4 separate regions of the Homo sapiens genome follow, and regions 1, 2 and 3 are each linked to region 4. The links are contacts of gene promoters, found by promoter capture Hi-C in blood cells and fetal thymus (Javierre and others, 2016). All regions are on one chromosome and are shown on one strand. The core of a region is centred on a gene start or on the middle of the fragment in contact, and the rest is flanking DNA. Distances in the headings are between cores, read along the strand shown.

What was found. The method cuts DNA at HindIII sites, captures the fragments that hold promoters and counts their contacts. A CHiCAGO score of 5 or more calls a contact.
Region 1: a contact is called between the fragment with the promoter of IQUB here and the fragment with the promoter of ARF5 in region 4, in 4 of 17 cell types (non-activated CD4 T cells, total CD4 T cells, total B cells and 1 more). The highest score is 12.2, in non-activated CD4 T cells.
Region 2: a contact is called between a fragment that was not itself captured here and the fragment with the promoter of ARF5 in region 4, in 1 of 17 cell types (M0 macrophages). The highest score is 5.3, in M0 macrophages.
Region 3: a contact is called between the fragment with the promoter of NDUFA5 here and the fragment with the promoter of ARF5 in region 4, in 1 of 17 cell types (total CD4 T cells). The highest score is 7.6, in total CD4 T cells.

What each region holds. Positions count from the first base shown.
Region 1 is chr7:123,533,336-123,538,481 of GRCh38, forward strand. It overlaps IQUB (IQ motif and ubiquitin domain containing), which reads right to left and starts at 1,260. Exons shown (of 13, transcript NM_178827.5): 1 at 1,157-1,260. LOC124901740 (a long non-coding RNA gene) reads left to right here and starts at 1,196. Exons shown (of 2, transcript XR_007060507.1): 1 at 1,196-2,090; 2 at 2,270-2,924. It overlaps NDUFA5 (NADH:ubiquinone oxidoreductase subunit A5), which reads right to left. Exons shown (of 5, transcript NM_005000.5): 5 at 3,662-5,146. RefSeq lists silencers at 1,327-1,556, 1,577-1,726, 1,807-1,936 and an enhancer at 2,007-2,146. The HindIII fragment of the contact is 3,094 bases long and covers 623-3,716 here.
Region 2 is chr7:123,750,551-123,755,543 of GRCh38, forward strand. It overlaps WASL-DT (WASL divergent transcript), which reads left to right. Exons shown (of 1, transcript NR_170281.1): 1 at 1-431. Among named protein-coding and RNA genes, the nearest start is that of WASL-DT, 3.9 kb to the left of the region's middle. The HindIII fragment of the contact is 3,335 bases long and covers 1,991-4,993 here.
Region 3 is chr7:123,555,424-123,560,010 of GRCh38, forward strand. NDUFA5 (NADH:ubiquinone oxidoreductase subunit A5) reads right to left here and starts at 2,395. Exons shown (of 5, transcript NM_005000.5): 1 at 2,352-2,395; 2 at 1,981-2,025. The coding sequence starts at 2,372. RefSeq lists enhancers at 1,525-2,103, 1,668-2,867, 2,104-2,682, 2,423-2,472, 2,733-2,872. The HindIII fragment of the contact is 10,047 bases long and covers 1-3,393 here.
Region 4 is chr7:127,586,200-127,591,195 of GRCh38, forward strand. ARF5 (ARF GTPase 5) reads left to right here and starts at 2,212. Exons shown (of 6, transcript NM_001662.4): 1 at 2,212-2,366; 2 at 2,884-2,964; 3 at 3,286-3,395; 4 at 3,867-3,938; 5 at 4,764-4,889. The coding sequence starts at 2,300. It overlaps LOC105375490 (a long non-coding RNA gene), which reads right to left and starts at 3,647. Exons shown (of 5, transcript XR_007060511.1): 1 at 3,557-3,647. LOC105375489 (a long non-coding RNA gene) reads right to left here. Exons shown (of 3, transcript XR_007060513.1): 3 at 3,670-3,752. RefSeq lists enhancers at 1,033-1,659, 1,660-2,285, 2,286-2,912, 2,913-3,538 and a silencer at 2,049-2,538. The HindIII fragment of the contact is 7,240 bases long and covers 1-4,996 here.

The DNA.
Region 1 (5,146 bases), core at 10-2,509, 4.1 Mb before region 4:
CATCAAACTGTTTTCTATTATAGCCCCAAGAAGTTCCCCTTGACTGTTTCCTTACATCCTCATATTGTTTTATGAGTCCTAATAATTAAATATCCCTTTGTTGTGTGTTGCCCTTATATTTCCCATTGTATGTTTGATGTTGTTTTTCTCTTACTATATAAAAGTTTTAGATTGTTAGGTAGTGACATTTATCAATCTTTTTGCTTATGAGAGTTTCCAAATTTCCTGACATGCTTCGAAACACCTTCTCACAATGAAACATAAATACATAAATTCATCCATAAATGCATAAATGAGACAGATCTGTAAATATTGATAGAAAACAACTGGACACACAGTCTTAAGTGTAAAAGCCAATCACAGAAGAGTATGCACAATGTTACAGGTGTAACTACATATTTGCGTATGTCTAAAACACCTGTGGAAGGTGGCCTGGAGATGGGGAGAAATGGGTAGATGGAGGATTTTCACTCTTCATTCTTTTTACTATTCGAACTATTTTTTTATGTATTATCTATTCAAATGAAAATGTTTAAATCTTATTGTTTAAAAAGCAACCTCTATCATGTTTGCATACAAAAAAGTCTCCCTTTTCACCTACATTTCATTCCCTACCATTTAAAGCTTAACACATTTAGAATGTAGTATAATTAGTGAGGCAGGGATCCAGTATTGCCTTCTACCAAATAGATCTGTTGAATTTTTAGGTTTGTTAAGAGGCAAAGACCAAGGGTGGAGAGGAAGGAGTGAGAGTGCCAGGTGAGGAAAGTCTAAAATCTCTCGACTTAATATGAGAATGGTGGCCACGGAAGGCTAAGAGTCTCTAGTGCCAGGTGTGGGTTATACACACATCTTCTATGCAATTACCGTGACAAGCACCCAGGGTGTGAGGTGAGGTGTACCTCCTAGCTTGATGCTGCTGGTTCAAGTCCCAAATCAGAGAGGGGAAGCCAAAAAAGGAGCCGAGAAAGATGAGATGCTTCGCACGGTTTTTAAAGTAAAGTCGGAACATTCCTGACCGACTAGGCAGCCCCAGGCGCTCAGGTGGGAATCACTGCCCAGCACACAGAACCCAGAGTCCAGCGCGGCTGTCACCGGCTCTAGGCTGGATCTAAGCGTCGGACCAGGAGGCCGCAGTCAAAATCTGTTCTCCTACCTGTGTACGAAACCAAACTATTCTCGTCGAAGTGCTTTCCCAGGCTCCTAAGACGCAGCTTCCATACTCGCCGCGTTCTCAGCTGTTGGTCGTATCCTAGCAACGGCCCTGGCACCACCTCTTCCTGCCGGAGCACGGCAGGGGTGGGAAGGAGAGGAGCCAGAGGCGGGTGGGGGGGAGGAGCCAGAAGAGGGCAGCGGGGAGGGGCCGGGAAGGAGGAGCGCGGCAGGGTAGGGGGAGGAGCCAAAGACTGGGGGCGGGGCCGGGAAGGAGGAGGGCGGCAGAAGAGAAGGGGATGAGCCAGAGGCGGGGAGGTGGGGCCGGGAAGGAGGAGTGCGGCAGGAGAGAAGAGGAGTAGCCAGAGGCGGAGGGGCGGTGTCGGGAAGGAGGAGCGCGGCAGGAAATAAGGGAAGGAGCTAGAGGCGGGCTGGGGGCCGGGGTCTGGAAGGAGGATCGCGGTAGGGAAGAAGAGGAGCCAGAGGAGGGGGATGGGGGCTGCAAAGGAGGAACGCGATAGGGAAAAGGGGGAGGAGCCAGAGGCGAGGGGGCGGGGAGAAGAAACATGGCAGGAGAAAGGGGAGGAGCCAGAGGCGAAGAGACAGGAAGAGGGACGCGTCAGGGAGAAGGGGAGGAGTCAGAGGCGAGCGGGCGTGGAGGAGGGAAGCGGCAGGGAGAAGGGGCGGGGCCAGAGGCGAAGGGGCGGGGAGGAGGGACGCGGCAGGGAGAAGGGGAGGAGCCAGAGGCGGAGGCTGTTACCAACTGGCTACCTAGATCCAAGTGAATCAGGACACTAACTTCTCTCCAAGATCTTTTACACTTGTGAAACGGCACAGCTCTCTAAACCAAACACTGACAGCAGTTTAATTTTACAGATATAAAAAAAATCCGAGTCAGAGAAATCATCACGATGAAGTCAGAGGCGAGAAACTGTCAGGTGCCTACTTGCTTTTGTTAAACTAACAACTTGGCTCTCAGCTTCCTGGCAGCCAAAGAGAAAAGGGAGATAGTAGCTATCAAATAATTCTGCTTAGAAGAACTTTTGTTAATCACTAAATTAGTTAATAAACTAAATTTTGTCTAACAACAAATTCTTTTTTTTTTTTTTTTTTCTAGTGTATACAGAGTCTTGCTCTGTCGCCCAGGTTGAAGTGCAGTGGTTCGATCTCGGCTCAATGCAACCTCTACCTCCCTGGCTCCCGCGATTCTCCTGCCTCAGCCTCCTGAGTAGCTGAGATTACAGGCGCCCGCCACCACCCCCGGCTAATTTTGGTATTTTTAGTAGAGATGGGGTTTCACCATGTTGGCCAGGCTGATCTGGAACTCCTAGCCTCAAGCAATCCGCCTTCAAAAGTGTTGGGGATTACAGGAGTGAGCCACCGCGCCCGGCCTATCAATGAATAAGAAAACTTTTAAAGAACCACAGGATAGTATTGGAGGTCAAGTCAAGTATGTTCCTCTTGGAAATTTAGTAACAAACTACATGTTGCTATCTCATAATAGCAGCTAACATTTATGAAGTATTCATTGTCATGAGGCACCGTACATAGATTTCTAATTTAATCCTTACAACGATTTTATTAGGGAGAAACTGCTATTAGACCCATTTTGTAAATGAGAAAACTAAGGCACACAAAGTTTAATGAGGGAACCAGGATTAAACCTAAGCAATCTAACTCCAGGTCCCAGATTTTTTAACCATTACAGTACTGTTTAATTTGATTTGATATGTTAAAAGGATTAATAAAATTAATACAGGTCCATTCCCTTATTCATAAATGTTCATTGTCTTCATTTATTTCTTTATACTGTTCTGCTGAAATTGCACTCTCATCTCCCCAATAACTTTGTAATATCCAATGCCATTTTTTTCAGTCATCCCATTTTAAAATATATTTTTACTAGAATAGTGAAATATATATTCAGATAAAATTGGCTTTGTTTTAATAATGATCAGTAAAAGTAAATTCATTTTAATCATTTCCACACATTCATGAAAAGTAAAGGGGAAAAATGGGCATAGAGGTAACCACTAGAATTAGGCTTTCTTGGATGGGTAGACCAGGTGTGGAGGTGTGCAGATAAGATTTTACAAACACTCATACACTCCCATCTCCAAAATCATAATTTATCTTACATTCTGCTACTAATAAACATTCCACTGGTTTTAAACATTCACTTTGCTGGGTCTCCTCTTTAAAATTTGTCATTCACTGTTCTCAATGTTAGAGACGGTATGCAAACAGTAGGTTTAGGAATAGAGTCAGGAGATGGGGGAAGAAAAACTGGTAGGAGAGAACTTAAGTGTCTCACAGTGTTAAATGTGACTTGATAGCCACTATTCATTTTTTTTTGTAGTTTGCTGTGAGGATGACTTTATACAATTTAATCTTAAATAGGAACCTAACTTAGTTAGGCTTCCTTGGGTAGTCTGTGGAGCATGGAAAAGTTATTAGCATGTCAAAATCCTGTCCACGCACACATACACGCACATACACACAAATGTAGTTTGGTTACATAATAAATTTATATTCAAACTTAATGAAAACAACCAATAGGAAAAAGCTTCTCAATTCCAAAAGTGAAAGAGTAATTTTACAATACCATTTTCCATTTTCCTTTTCATGATAAATCTATGCATTTTCTCAGGATTTATTCCACCAAACGACTTCGTATTTCTCATGAAACATCTACCTTTATTCATCTCAGCATTTATTTATGTAATAAACATTTCTTTTGATGTGCTTTTATTTTTACAAAGATGCCACCTAGTGGCTTGATAAAATCAAGCATTTCAAAGTATCTCCTGTTGTTACTACAGGTTAAAATGAATAATGAATATTTTTAATATTAAAATAATTTAGAAAACTAAGGACCTGAAAATTTTTGTTTTGGAAATTATTTAGATTAAATTTGGATCATAATACCACTTTGTGAACTTGTTAAGAGAATGGAAATATAGGTCTATTGTCCCTTTTCTGAAACCTTTTAAGACAGATGTGTTTGATATTCACAATTTTTCAGATTTTTGAAAGGAAATATGGGCATATACTTTACATTATGTAACACATTAAGAGGGTCTGAGGAAGCAGTTTAGAATCAAATATATTGATACATCTGTGGCAAAATATATTCATATTCACATTGAAGTGCGATAAATACCACAAATAGCCTCATGTAATTCAGGTGGGGTTTGTTGCCAAATGAGTTATGAAAAAACTTTGTTTTCAGAGATTTTTGAAATTAGGAATTTAGATAAGGGACTTTGGACCTGTTTTACTCTGGTGAAAAATAATTCACCCTCCAGTTATAGAGAGATTAAAATGCCAATATTTTGTAAAAAAAAAAAAATAGTTATCTTTAGAAAACCTAATAGATTCACCTAAAAAAAAATTGAAGATCATGAGAAATACCAAAATAGAAATCTTTGCAATGCTTTTCATTTAATTATATACAGATGCCAATCATAAATTACATTTAAGTGTACCACAAAAAATTAGCTGCTAATGTAAACCTAAAGACCAATTTGAAAATTATTAGTGATGCATGGCAAGTTCAATTCATAAATTTTGTGGCACAGTCAAAAAAAAATTTAACCTTGGTTGTTTCTTTTTTTTTATTCCTATGTGTAATTTACCATGTTCCAATTCCCCACCACCACTATGGTCATGGAAATATATGTTGATGGTGCCACACTCAGCCTGGATTCCTTGTGGGTCTATGAGCACTCCTTGCCAACCCTCCTTAGACATGCAGTATGAATAAAAAATACACTTAAGACACTGGGATTTAAGGATAACCCATGCTAAGTCACTACATGACTCACTATTTTACTTCACGATCTAGAATACTGACTCATCTCTAGTCTCTCAAATGAATTCTTCCTGTCCCCATCAATCATTCAAACCCCTTATCACATTCCCACTGTGATTTCCTGTGAATTTTGTCTAAAATAAAACGTCGACCTCCTCTAAACACAACTGGTAGCCTCTC
Region 2 (4,993 bases), core at 2,408-4,907, 3.8 Mb before region 4:
GTTATGAGTCTTACAACCCTATGGACTTTGGACAAATTACTTCTCTGCGTCTGTTTCCTCATCTGTAAAATGAAAATAATTTCTGTTTCATACAGGTATAGTCTAAATAGGGATAATTACACCTACTTCAAAGTTGTAAAATACACAATTACAACTAGATAGGAGGTATAAGTTCTAGTGTTCTGTAGCACTGTAGGATGACTATAGTTAACAATATTGTATAGTTTCAAATAGCTAGAAGAAGGATATTGCATGTTCCCAAAACAAAGACATAAGTTTTTGAGATGATAGATATGCTAATTACCCTAATCACTATATGTTATATGTATTGCAACATCACTATGTACCCCCATAAATATGTACAGTTATTGTGTATTAAAATTTTTTTAAACTAAAATTATAAGACATTAAAAAAAGGTATCACATGTAAAGTACCTGATACATAGTGGTTACTCAAGTATTAGTTGTCGGCCATTGACAGTCCTTGCCTATGGTCTTTTCTGCTTTCCCTGAGCTAAGGGATCAAGACTTAATATATGTATTCTTACCTTTGTTCTAATTCTGACTCTTCAAAAACTGTCCTTCAAATATACAATTGTACATATTTTTTCAAAAATATAGTGAAGAACTTGATAGCAGAATTTCTGATTAGGCCATATATTATATCAAATAGGCTACATATATCCCAGTATGCCAAAATAAAACTTTTTAAAACTGTAAATCCAGAGATAGAATCCTATTAGCTTCTAATTTAATAAAAACTGAAAGATTAGCAAATTTTATGTTAGAAATACCAGCTTTTAGAACTTGTAGACCACCAAACTATTTTGAAGACAGGAAAGAGTAGTGGGAGAGGGCTGTGAAAAAAAAAAAAAAGGCCATGAGATGATAGGTGAATGGACAGTAGCTGCGTTCAAGAATTTATCTCATTCTGAGAATTATTGAGTTCCAATCATTTCACAACCTCTTACTAGCCTAGACTATCTATTGTTTTGATTTTCTTTTCTTTCAGGAAATTTTATGACTTATCTAAATGCAATTTTCTTTTTACTATTTGCCCTTTTTCTGTTTTCTTTAGACTTGGAGATGGAAAATGATGACCACAGTAGACTTTTTTCCTCAGGTCCAACCTTTCTTTAATTTTTCTCCAAATTTTTAGTATAGTCCTTTGTCCACAAAATTGCAATTTAAGTTCTTGTCTTCTACCCTCCATTGTTATTTTTGTTTTTCTCTGGGCTTTTTCCAACTCTTGATGTGGAAAATGTAAGCATGAACATTTCACTGGAAATATGACTTCCTTACTCATTTAAGCCTGTGAACAAGCAATATTTGGGGATTCCCTCCTTACCATACATAAAGGATTCTATTTTTCCATACTCATCCTGAGACCAAGCAGTACTGGCTGTTTTTGTTTCAAAAGTTTTAGCAAGTCCTTTCTTTCATTCTTGATAGCATATCCTCTGTTTGGCAGAACACAAGACATCTTTTCTCTCTGTTTTCTTTGGCAAGTTATTTCCTTATCTCAAATTTTTTTACCCAGTTTGAGAGATTGGATTTTATCCAGGACATAAGCATTCTGTTTCCCTTCAACAGAGTATCTTGAAGTTTGTAAGCGCTGTTAAGAAGACTAGGGGTTTTATCTTAATATACATATAAAATGCATATGCTAGAAATACCAGCTTTCAGAGCTTGTAGACCACCAACCTATTTTGAAGACAGGAAAGAGTAGTGGGAGAGGGCTGTGAAAAAAAGCTTTATTACGGTGTATATGAATATAACAAAAAAAAGGCAATTCTTACATTTAATTTCTTCCATTTGACTCTCCTTACCTCAACTAGCATCTATTCTAGTACTTCATTTTCTTCTTTCTTTGGTATGATCTTTTAAGGTAAAGCCCTCATTTTAACAGAAAACATTAGGGTAGCTTATTATGGAAATGAGAGCATATTTTCAGATACATTCCTGCTGTTATCCTTATGGGTACTTTGCAAGCTTCTCTTGTTACGGTTCTTTGTTATATATTTTTCTTCTTTACAAATGTCATTGTTTATGTACTGTTAAAAGTCCTCTGAAACACCCTATTCCCCTTGCTAATGTTAATAATTTAAAATGTAGTGACACCCTTTACTGTGGGGGAATATAAAGGTGGCTGAAAGCACACGGCATTCAGCAGCCATTGTAGCCATAATTGCTGCTTGGCTATGGCAGAACTGATTTTATAGAGACAGAACAACAGCAAATCTGAATACTGCAAATCTGGATTTGCAGAAAAAGTGCAGGGGCAATGAGTGCTACTTCTCCCATGCAACCTCCAGAAATGTCATGTGTCTAAAATGTTCGTCTTGTAAAATATCTGCACATTTTTATGTAAATGTTGCATATGGCAATGCTTACAAGAATTTATTCTAGTACATGTTATCCCAAGTTAAATGTTAATTGTTTTCTTTTTCATCAACTAAATTCTGAAAAGTAAGCTAGCACACCATTTTTTTTCTGCCTCTCCTTTTTAAATTCATTTTAACTACAAACCTCTTTGGGGCTTTCTTTTTTAGGAATAAATAGTTTATTTACAAATCATTCTGATTTCTTATTGAAGTTAGTGGAAAATTGAACACTTATTCATGCTACAAAATTACCAGTGATAGTTACTACCATTATATGTCCTAGTCTCCAAATACCTAGTACTTACCTGTAATCAAGAAATGATTTGAAGAGCTAAGTATGTTATAGTTCCCAGGATGCTGCTTATGGTTTTCTGGCTGCTCTTTAACTTTAATGAATATTCAATGGCTTATTATTATTCCAAATGAGAGAGAACAACATTGATTTCTTTATTGTAATGTTCTCAAGGTCAATCTACATTATAAATGAGTAGGCAGGCTGGATACTTGGGAAAATTTGAAGATGCCACATGTCCCCATTACCACATTGAAATTATTGGGGTCAAGGATATGGTCTCTGCTACCATGTAACATTTTTAAAATCAATTTTTATTTTTATACAAATGATAAATGCACATAATTTAAAAAATCAAATAGTAGTACAAAACTTAAAACAGCATAAAACAGAAGTTACATTCTTGGACCACTTTAACTTTGTTGGATTTTACCCCCCTCAATAATTTGCTTAAATTTTATTTCTTTTATTTCTTCTATATTAAGAACTATAAAGTCCTTCCTCATATTATTTTCCACATAATCAAGTGTATCAGGAATCTATTAGACTCACTAATTTTAATCAAAGACCTGTCTCCCAAAGCCATCCATCATCCCATATTAATCTGTACTGTTGCTACATGGCTATTGTCTGGAATTTTATTGAGTTACTATCCTGGGATTTCCCTTTATCTTTCTGTATTAGACCCTCTGTTTCTTGGAACCTATGTCATCCATCTTGATGTACTCCCTTGTTTTGATAGTGTATATCCTTTAGTGGCTTCCTAAGAAAAAGTGCATAGATAGTAAAATTTTGAGACCTTGCATAGCTGATAGTTTTATTCTAATCTCACTCTTGGTTGATTAGTTTAACAGGGTAGAAAATTTCAGGTTGAATACCAGTTTTCTTCAGTATTTGAAGGTGTTATTTTATTGATTTCGAACTTTCAACATTGCTGTTGAAATCTGAAGTTATTCTGATTCTGATCTTTTGTATATAAGTCTTTATGACCTCTAAAAGTTTTCAGAATTCTGTTTGTTTATGGAATTCTGAAAGTTGATGATGTACCATAGTGGAATACTTTTACATTTATTGTACTGGGTATTCCAAAGGCCCTTTTTATCCAAAAACTCATGTCTTTTAGTGCTGGAAATTTTTCTTTTGTTATTTTCATATTTTTCTTCCCCTTTTTTCTCTTTTCGCTTTCTGGAATGCCTGTTGGTCAAATGTCAGATTTTCTGACTCATTCTATACAATTAGAAAGCACACCCAAGTTTCACTGTGGAACTACTCCAGTGAGCCCTTCAGTGTGGTCATCTCTGGGCAGAGATACTATAGATTTACTGCTAACATTGGGAATTGGAAACTAGAATCTCTTCTGAGATTCTAAAAGCAGGGTGTTTCTGCTGCCATCCTTGCTGCCCTTTGCCACATGCTTCTTCACTTTATGTGTTTTCAAATCACAGTTGCCCATGGGTGTGTCTGATGAGGGAAAGGTCACATACCTGTACCCTAGCTGCAAAAGAGCTGGAGATTTCAGGCTCGTTGTTAAGGGTCTGCGGATTCATAAGGTCAGAAATTCCATGAACACAGAAAAAGTATTCAAAAGGTACTCAGCAGCTAGTGAATTCAACTGGGGACAGTTGGAACTTCAGGATGTTTGATGACTGGGGAGAGGGTCTTTGTTAAGAAAAAGCAATAATATGAAATATTAATGCTTTCCAATTTTATCAAGATGATAGCATTTTTGTGTACTGAATTACATGCATATTACATACATAATAAAATTGTAAAACTCTGTATCTAGGAAGTAAATAGTCTTTATTTATTTTTGCCTCCATACAAAGTCTTTAATAAGAACTGTGTTTTTCCCCCACATTAACTAGGTTACTTGTCCTTAGAAAGTTGGTAATGGTTGAATGGGTTAGTACTATATGTTCATACACGTTGATATCATTTATCTATAAATAGCTATTTAGCTGATTCATTAAAGCAAATTGAAGTAAGTCATTTTGATATAATAAATTGTCAAAGTCAGTGATATGCAGGCTTTTCATTTGTAAATTGTAATTACTTTTTAAATGTTTGTCTCCTACATTAGCCTCAAAGCTCTCTAAGAGCTGGTATCATGTCTTATTCATCTTTGTATCTTTTTAGTCTTAACATTGAACCTATACATTATTCAACGTATATTTGTAGATCAAATGACCACCTTTGATTCAAATAAAAACATATGAATTTTTATCAGGTACAAAGATAGTTACACAGGATCTGAGATCAAATAAAGAGAAACCACAGTCTTGCCCAAACTCTTCCACACAGTACTAAGCATGTGGTA
Region 3 (4,587 bases), core at 1,145-3,644, 4.0 Mb before region 4:
AAGGATCAGCAAAAAAAATAAAAATAAAAATCATCATTGGAATGAATATGAGAGTACAAGTATAAGAGAAATACCAACTATGATGTCCAAATTCCCAGCCTAGGGAGTAGAAAGATCTGAAACTATCAAGAAAAATACAGCCCACAGAGGAAGAAATATATTTAGAAGGGAAAAACCATGAGTTCAGTTCTTTACATCAATGACAATAAAGTTATTATGAAATCATAGGAAGTGCAAGACACTCATTCAACTAACACTATTTACTGAGCACATACTATGTGACAGAGTTCTAGCAGTGAAACAATTACAAATCCCTGCCTTCATGAAACCTACATTCTAGTAGAGACATAACAAAATAAATCAGTAGAATAGTGAACCAGAGGGTCACAGTAAGAAACTTGTCTTTATTTAGAGTGAAATGGAAAGCCATTAGTTTTAAGGAAAGGAGAGATCTGACCTACCTCATATTTTAACAGACTAACTCTAGTAGCCTGGCTGGAAAAAAAGACCAAATGGAGGCTGTGACAAGCATTGAGAGGCAGTTAAGAAGTGAATGCAATTATCCACATCAGTGATGATGGTGACTGAGGAAGAGGGTAGTAGCAGAGGAGGTAGTGAGATGTTGTCAAAATCAAGATATATTTTGAAGGTGGAACCTAGAGGGTTTACTGAAATAACAAATGTGGAGTGTAAGAGAAAGGAAGGAATCAAAGATGATTTCAAGTTTCTGACCTGAGTCAAAATAATTGAGCTGCCATTAATTGAGATGAGCAAGACTGAGAGAAGAGCAGGTTTTAGGCAGAAGATCAGGAACCCCATTTTGGACATGTTAAGTTTGGGTTGCCTGTCTGACACATACAAATAGAGATGCCCACTAAGCAATTAAATATTCAGGACTTTTATAAAGGAAGAGGTCAGTGCTTTACATGGAAATCTGTTGTCAGTGTATAGGTGGTATTTAAAACCGTTCTCTATTTGGATTTGCTCTCTCTTGGTGACAGAGTACAGGTCCAAAAGAAAAGGTCCAAGAACTAAATCCTGACTAACTCAAATTTTAAAAGTGGGCATAAGAGAAATAACCAGAAAAAGAGAAAGCCAAAGAGTAGGGGGAAAAAATCAGGAGACTGGGGGAGTCCTGAAGCCCAGTAAAGAAAGCGCATGATGGAAAAAGTGTCAAATGTGTCAAAAAAAAAAAAACGCTGCTATTAGGTCAATGAAGGTGAGAAACATAAGCTGACCATTGGATTTGGCAACATGGAGATAACTGGTGAACTTGAAAAGAGCGTGATGGAAAAAGTGTCAAATGTGTCAAAAAACGCTGCTATTAGGTCAATGAAGGTGAGAAATATGAGCTGACCATTGGATTTGGCAGCATGGAGATAATTGGTGAACTTGAAAAACGCCAAGGGTGACTGAGTGCATTCAAGGGTGAATAAGAAAGAAATTGGAGAAAATAGAGATAACTCTTTTGAGTTATCTGTAAAGTGAAGCAAAGAAATGGTGTGATTATAGAAGGGACAAGAAGAATAAAAAAATTTTGTGGGTTTTTTTGATGAAAACATTCGTGAATACAGATGGAAAAGACCTAACAGAAGGAAAAGGGGGCAGTACCTTTAGTAAGCCTAAATATATGTAATCCAACGCACCTAAGCAGAAACGGTAAGGCAAGGAGAAAAGATGGAAAACGGAGATATAAATTTGAGATGGCGCTGACAGAAGCAAGCACAAGTGAAGCCATGAAAATGTCAAGGAAAAAGTCAACAAGAAAACTGGCTTAATAAAGAGGTCATGGCAAAAATAAATAAAAATGTGACATCGGATCAACGAAGTAGGTGGACAGCGCCCGTGTCTCAAGAGCTCACGCGGCTTGTAATTAAGGGCTTGAAACATCTGTATCCCGTTAACCCTGCAATAAGCAAAGTGACAGGAATTTAGTCTTCCTTGGGAATTCAAGAACGAAGAAAGAACAAAGGTACATACCTCGTGAGGAGTATTGCACACAGCCAATCCCACAAGGCCAGTGGTCTGTTCAAAAACAAAACACGATTCATGCTGTTTACTACGGTTTCCATACATCCAGCACGCTAAGGAAATACAAAACCACGAATCCCCCGGCTAAAACTGGTCTAAAGCCAGCTACTGGTCTCTCAGTCTCGCTTGTTTGGAGCTTTTTTCCTGACTCTCGGAGCGGAACCACTAACCTGCCCTACCCGGTAAGGCATGCAGAACGAGTCCCCGAAAAGCACCGCCGAGCCCGCGACAGTAGGGGTCAACACCCGCGGGAAGTAGGGCTATCGGACTGAGTCTACCCCCACAGTCTAAATTCCAACAGTGACCTCCATTCGTCTCACCTTCTTCAGCACACCCGCCATGACAGCGCCAACGACTCGGTGACGCACAACCCTTTGGGAACAATTCTCAGACCTGCTCAATCGACCACCGAGGTCGCCACTCTGTCACCCTGGAAACAGCTTAGCTCCACCCCTTCAGGATCGCCAAAGGAGCAAAGACTCTGCCCCGCCCATCTTAAAAGAGAAAAATTGACGCATGCGCGATGGGCATACAAGCCTAAAGCTAAGCTAGAAGACGATTGGGGAAAGAAAGGGTTTCCCAGCTGTCTGTTCCTGTTCCTGCCACTGCTGACGGCTTGCCCAAAGATTGAGGGAAACACTCCCAACTACCAAAAAACTCCAGTCGCTGTAGGAACCTGCACTGTGCTTAACCGTTGATGCATTCCTCAACCTTCCTTTCTCAGTTTAGTAAAATGAAAGTGATAACGGAGCTTGAGCATCCTCTGAATTGATCTCTCAACAGCAAGTTAGTTCTTCGCACAAGGATATCAGTATTCTCTGTGTCTTACGAACCAAAGCCCTATGGAGTGTGAGGTCATTTTCCATCGCTCTTTTCGATTTCACTGGCTGAAATACATCATCTTATTTCCAGATGAAATGATATCAGACCATACCACTTTTTCCTACCTCCACAAACACTGACCACTCACTATGTGTCAGTTACTGGGACATAATTTCTAAAATGGGATTTCACATCCTGGAATTCAAAGAATAATGAAGAAGGCGTGTATTAATAAATAATTTGGTAACTGTTCTAAAAGAAGTTGATGCAAAGTGTGATGGTACCAGGGAAAAGGAAATAACTAAAAAGCGTGGGTGACTTTCTAAAAAGTCAGTAGGAGAAAAGAACAAATTGAGAAAACACAAGTACAAAGGAAAAGAGGTTAAAAATGTATATATAAATTCCAGGTGATTTTATGTGATTGGAAAGGTGGGTTTGATTGTTAAGGTAAACTGGTTAAGATTATGAAAGGTGTTGTTTGCCATTATACAAAATTTGAATTTTACTTTTTAAGGAATGGGAACAATGAGAAGACTTTTAAGCTTCTAAGTGACACCATCAAATTTATGTTTCAGATATACAAACAACTTAGGCAACAGTTGAAGAGAATGAGTTGGAAGAGATGAGGCCTTTCATTAGAGGCATGAGACTAGAAAAAATGAAAGCTAAACCAAAAGCAAACAGAAGAAAGGAAATATTAAAGATTAGAAAAGAAGGAGACAGAATATCAATAAAGAAAATCAATGAAACCAGGAATTGGTTCCCTAAAAGGATCAACAAAATTGGCAAACCTTTAGTGAAACTAAGAAAAAAAAGAGAGAAGATTTAATACAAGCAAGAATAAAAGAACCATCACTAATAGCCTTGCTGAAATAAACAGGAATAAGAAGGAATACTATGAACAACTATGCTTAAAAAAGATAAAGTAGATAAAATGGCCAGATTCCTAGAAAAACACAAACTACCTAAATCAACTCAAGAAGGCATAAAGAAAAATCTGACTAGATCTAACATAATTAAAGAAATTGAATTAGCAAGAAAAAAAAAAAAACCTATCCAGAAGGAAAAGCACAGGTCCAGATGGCTTCGCTGGTAAATTCCACTGAACAATTAAAGAATAACACTTAAGAAACTATTCCAAAATATAGAAGAGGAGGAAACAATTAACAACTAATTCTATAAGGCAAGTATTACTCTGATTCCAACCAGACAAAGAAATCAACAAGAAACAAAAACTTCAGCCAGGTGTGGACTCTGATTCCAACCAGACAAAGAAATCAACAAGAAAAGAAAACTTCGGCTGGGCCTGGTGGCTCATGCCTGTAATCCCAGCACTTTGGGAAGCTGAGGCAGGAGGATCACCTGAGGTCAAGGGTTTGAGACAGCCTGGCCAACATGACAAAACCTTCTCTCTACTAAAAATACAAAAATTAGCCAGGCCTTGTGGTGTGTGCCTGTAATCTCAGCTACTCTGGAGGCTGAGACAGGAGAATCACTCAAACTCAGGAGGCAGAGGTTGCAGTGAGCCAAGATTGGGCCATTGCACTCTAGCCTGGGTGACAGAGCAAGATTCCGTCTCACAAAAAAAAAAAAAAAAAAGGAAAGAAAAAAGAAAATAAAACTTCAGGCCAATATCCCTTATTAATAAACACAAAATACTCAGAAAAGTACTAGCAAACCAAATTCAGTAGCATATGAAAAAAAAATTATACACCACAAATAAATGATATTTAT
Region 4 (4,996 bases), core at 962-3,461:
GGCAGAAAGGTTATACGTAACATGCCCAAGGTCACACAGCTAGTAAGTTTAGGAGTTCTAATCAGTCTGATTCTCAACGTATCACGTGCTGTGCCAGATGGTAACACCATTAAGAGACACGACCTTGCCCTCAGGGAGCTCGCAATCTAGTGAGGAACCAGACATACAAATATGTCCTGCTATCACACCAGTATGTCTGGGTATATTCAAAGTGGTATGAAAGTTAAGAGGAAAGAGGCCTGTCTAGGTGAGGCATGGAAGGCTCTTGGGAATAATACTTTGGGATTTGAAGGATGAGTCGTGATTGTCCACCTAACCAGAGATCAGGGAAACTAGCATTCCAGGCAGGTGGAAAAAAATGCAAAGACCTGTAGGGTATCGGAGTTTGACTCACCCAGAAAGCATTCAGTAGCTTAGGGTATGTGAAGGAGGTGACAACAGAGGGGCTGGCACAATAGGTAGGGACCCAACTTATGGCATTTAAATTTTATCTTGGGTTATAGTAAGGCCCTAATGGATTTTAATCTGAAAAGTGGGATGTCATCAAGACTTGTATGACATGTTGGAGGGAACAAGGGGCAGGAAACCTGTGAGGAGACTTTCAGTCATGGGGAACAGAAGGTAGTGACAACAGAGATGGAAGCAAAGAGGCTGATAAAAGAGCTAAATGTAGAATTGACCTAACTTGGTGAACACTAGTTCTGTTATTATATTGGAACTCTCTAAAATGTACTCTTCAGCCTCGTAAAAGCCTTCTTAGGGATGCAAGTCTATGACTGAAGAGAAAAGGAAAGTCATTCACTCACTCATACCTGTTTCCCAAAGTCTGTCCTTGTTACAGACTTTGCAGATCAGGATGGGGCAGGCCCTGGAGGTCTGTTCAGACCCCGTTTCTCAGTGGCCCAAATAACATCAAGCTGTATTATACATAACATTCAGTCACATTATCAAATCATTTTAAGATTCACCATAACCCCTTAAGTTAGAACAAGTCTCATTTTATAGATGATGAAATAACGGAAGAGTTATGAGGAGTGCTGAAGCCAAATCCTCAAGAAATGGCAGAATTAAGATTTGAACTAAAGCCTGAAATCACGTGCTGGCAAGTGGTGGGTGCTCAGTAAATATCTGCTGAAAAAGCAAATGAATGAGTGAAGGTTTTTTTATTCCCAGCTCAGTTTACCTCGAGTCCATAAACAATTGATCCTAGAAGCCCACTGGGAATCCAGAGTAGACATAACACCTACCCTCGCTCCATTGAGAATCTATCAGTCCAGTTCAACTGAACAAGCATTTGTTAGGCCTAATAATGCCTGGCAATGAGCCAGTCTCCACCGCAGAAGAATTTCATTCCTATTTTGCTATTCTCCTCTCAGATGTTAAAATGAGGCAGGGAAATGACATGTGAAGCTCTTTGGGTCTACGGAGTCAAGATCTTCACAAAATCCTGAATGGATGTGCAAGAATAAGCCAGGTCCACAAGTCTGTGGCAAAGTGAGGAACTTCGGCAAAGCGGCCAGCGCCTGGACTGAGAGGCGGGGCCCGCAGGGCGATCCAAACGAAGGTGGACTTCTCCAACAGCCCAGGAGTGGGTCTGTGACCCCGCCGCCCAAGGCCGGGAATCTTACACTGGTTCTGCGGATTGGGAATTAGGAAGTAGGCGTTTTGAGGAACCATGGAAGCTAGCTAGCACTCGGGCACCTTCCCCTACCTCCCGCGCACTCTTCACACGACCACCTACTACGCGCAAGTCCCTCGGTGGAAGATGAGGCAGTAAAGGGAGGACCAAGACCCCTAATCGCAGCTTCCACTCCCCAAAGGAGAGTGGTGCACACGTTCAGTGCTACTGGTTCCCAAGGGCTAAAACCGGAGCCCCTAGGGGCCTGGACGCAACAAACCAAAGCCCAGCGGCCGGCCACTGAAAATGGGGGCAGGGGCCGCTGCGGAGCGATGAATCCTTTCCTCAGCCGCGCTCGGGCTGCCGGTTCGGCGGCCACAGGCCTGGCAGGCGCGTTAGAGACCTAGACCCGTTCCCAAGTAAGGGCCGCACGGGACCCAGGCCAGCAGCGGCAACTCGCGGAGCTTCAGCTCCCCTAGGAGCCAGAGCCGGGGGAGGCGGGGCCGAGAGCCGGGGGCGGGGCCCGGACGGGGGCGGGCCCGCGGTGACGTCGGGAGGGCAGCGACGCGCGGAGGCGGCGGCGGAGCCTCCTCCTGCTGCTGCTGCGCCCCATCCCCCCGCGGCCGGCCAGTTCCAGCCCGCACCCCGCGTCGGTGCCCGCGCCCCTCCCCGGGCCCCGCCATGGGCCTCACCGTGTCCGCGCTCTTTTCGCGGATCTTCGGGAAGAAGCAGATGCGGATTCTCATGGGTGAGGCAGATCGAGCGCGCGGCCCGGACCGGGGCGCCGGCCCCGGCGCAGCCCTTCCGCCCCCGCGTCCCTCCAGCCCCGCTCACCTGGGTCTCTGGCCCCGAGTCACCCACCTCATAACGCCCCGGGGCCTCTGCTCTCGGGCGGGTCCCGGTCTGCATCGCCGACCCCGGGGCCTGACACCCGGAGCTGCGGGCCTGGGTGGGGTGAAGCTCCCTCCGCCCCAGCCCGGCTGGTAAGAAGGGAGGATTCCGCCCTTGGAGACGACTTTTAAAACGAGCGCGGCCTACCTCCCGTGCCCCTTGCCTCCCAGTCCTCTCCCGCTCCGCGCCCTCTTTGGAGTTGGCTCACGCCACCCGACTGCCCTCCAGGCCTCAAAGGTAGATAACGACGCGCACCTGGAGGCGCTCCCGCTCTCCGCCCCAGTCACCATCAGCTGTTGTGGCCTCTCCCTTTCCCTGGTCTCTAGGGGGCTCCCTCGCTCCCATCTCCATCCCTGTGCCCCTTTCCGTTGCAGTTGGCTTGGATGCGGCTGGCAAGACCACAATCCTGTACAAACTGAAGTTGGGGGAGATTGTCACCACCATCCCAACCATAGGTGAGCCCGGGGACGAAGCAGGGAGCGGGAGCGCCGCGGCGGGCCCTCGCGGGGTCTGCTCCCAGTTCTGCCACTTTTCTGGAGCTGACCCTGACACCAGATACAGCTATTTGAGAAGTGGGTCAGGGTATCTCTACGTGGATACCGGAGGCAGGGTGGATGTGACCTAGCCCCGCCCTGTTGACCGCCAGTTCTGGGGTTCTGTTCCCCTGGGCCTTGATCATTGCCTTCTGGTTTTGTGTCCCTGCTGAAATCTAAGTAGTTTTAGTGAGTTCCTTTCTTTCAGGAGTTTTCTCATCTTTTTTTTCCAATTATCTGCAGGCTTCAATGTAGAAACAGTGGAATATAAGAACATCTGTTTCACAGTCTGGGACGTGGGAGGCCAGGACAAGATTCGGCCTCTGTGGCGGCACTACTTCCAGAACACTCAGGTGGAGTGTTGGGAGGGGACTTTCTAACCCCACGGGAAAAGGTGTTAGGGCTGGGAGAACAGAATTGTTGGCCTAGGCTGGGCCCCCAGGCCAAGGAAAAAACCCTTCCCCACTTCTACCCCTTCTGTTTGGCTATCCCCTACTCACTCTTCAGAACTCACCTTAGTCTTCCCCAGCTTGGACTTCTCTTTAGAAGCAGGATTCTGGGACCAGGCTGCCTGATTTAGCCCTCATAACATGTCTTTATTTCCTTGCACATCTTTGGATAAACTACTTCCTCTTTGCAGTGGGGTCTCTAGTTTGTGCCATGACTCCTGTAGAGCTTCTATAGAGTTCTGTAAACTTCTGTAGAGTTTACTAGATGAGAAGGATTGACACAATTACAAATGGGAAGAAAACAGAAAGGGCCACACTACGGTATGTCCCAGGCAGAAGTGATTGCTTCTCCTTTCTTCCTTCCTTCCTGCCCAGGGCCTCATCTTTGTGGTGGACAGTAATGACCGGGAGCGGGTCCAAGAATCTGCTGATGAACTCCAGAAGATGGTGAGTACCCAGAGCCCTGGGAACTGAGCCCTCAGCTTGGGGACAGAGTGATCTCTGTAGTGGTATAGAAGTCAGGGAGCCCCCAACAGGCATTGAAGACCAGGAATATAAGTTTTTCTTTGTGGACAGACACATTGTGTATCTCACCCTGTTTTGGATGGGAGTGACTTTTTCACTTTTTCTGTGCATTGTCTTGTCTTTTTTTTTTTTTGAAATGGGAGTTTTGCTGTTGTTGCCCAGGCTGGAGTGCAATGGTGCAATCTCGGCTCACTGCAACCTCCGTCTCCCGGGTTCAAGCAATTCTCCTGCCTCAGCCTCCCAAGTAGCTGGGATTACAGGCGCCCGCTGCCATGCCCAGTTAATTTTTGTATTTTTAGTAGAGACGGGGTTTCACCATGTTGGCCAGGCTGGTCTTGAACCCCCAACCTCAGGTGATCCACCCGTCTTGGTCTCCCAAAGTGCTGGGATTACAGGAGTGAGCCACTGCGCCCGGCCGCATTCTCATGTCTTTACATCTGAGTCTGAGAAGTTGTGGGAGAGATGGGACTTATATGTGGCAAAGAGAAACATTTTACATTCCTGCCTTTTCCATTTGGAAATGTTGTCATTTTGCCTAGGCAAGTACTCAAATTAGGAAAAGGTCTTTCTTTTCTGGACTTATGGGCTCAGGTCACCTCAAGCTCATTTACAACTATGTCTTGTCTTCAACGGCAGACTGCACAATACTTTTTTTTTCCAATCAAGATGCTAGGAGGTAGAAAGGGAATTCCCCAACACAGTAGAGGAGACGCAGCCTGGGTCCCACCTTCTCTTCTCCTCTCTCAGCTGCAGGAGGACGAGCTGCGGGATGCAGTGCTGCTGGTATTTGCCAACAAGCAGGACATGCCCAACGCCATGCCCGTGAGCGAGCTGACTGACAAGCTGGGGCTACAGCACTTACGCAGCCGCACGGTAGGGGTCCTGCCCACCTGGTGCTGAATCCTGCCTCTTGAGGGAAGCTGCAGGCTGGGACAGAGATATAAAGGCATTCCTTTTGTTCCTGGTTGCTGACCTCTTTC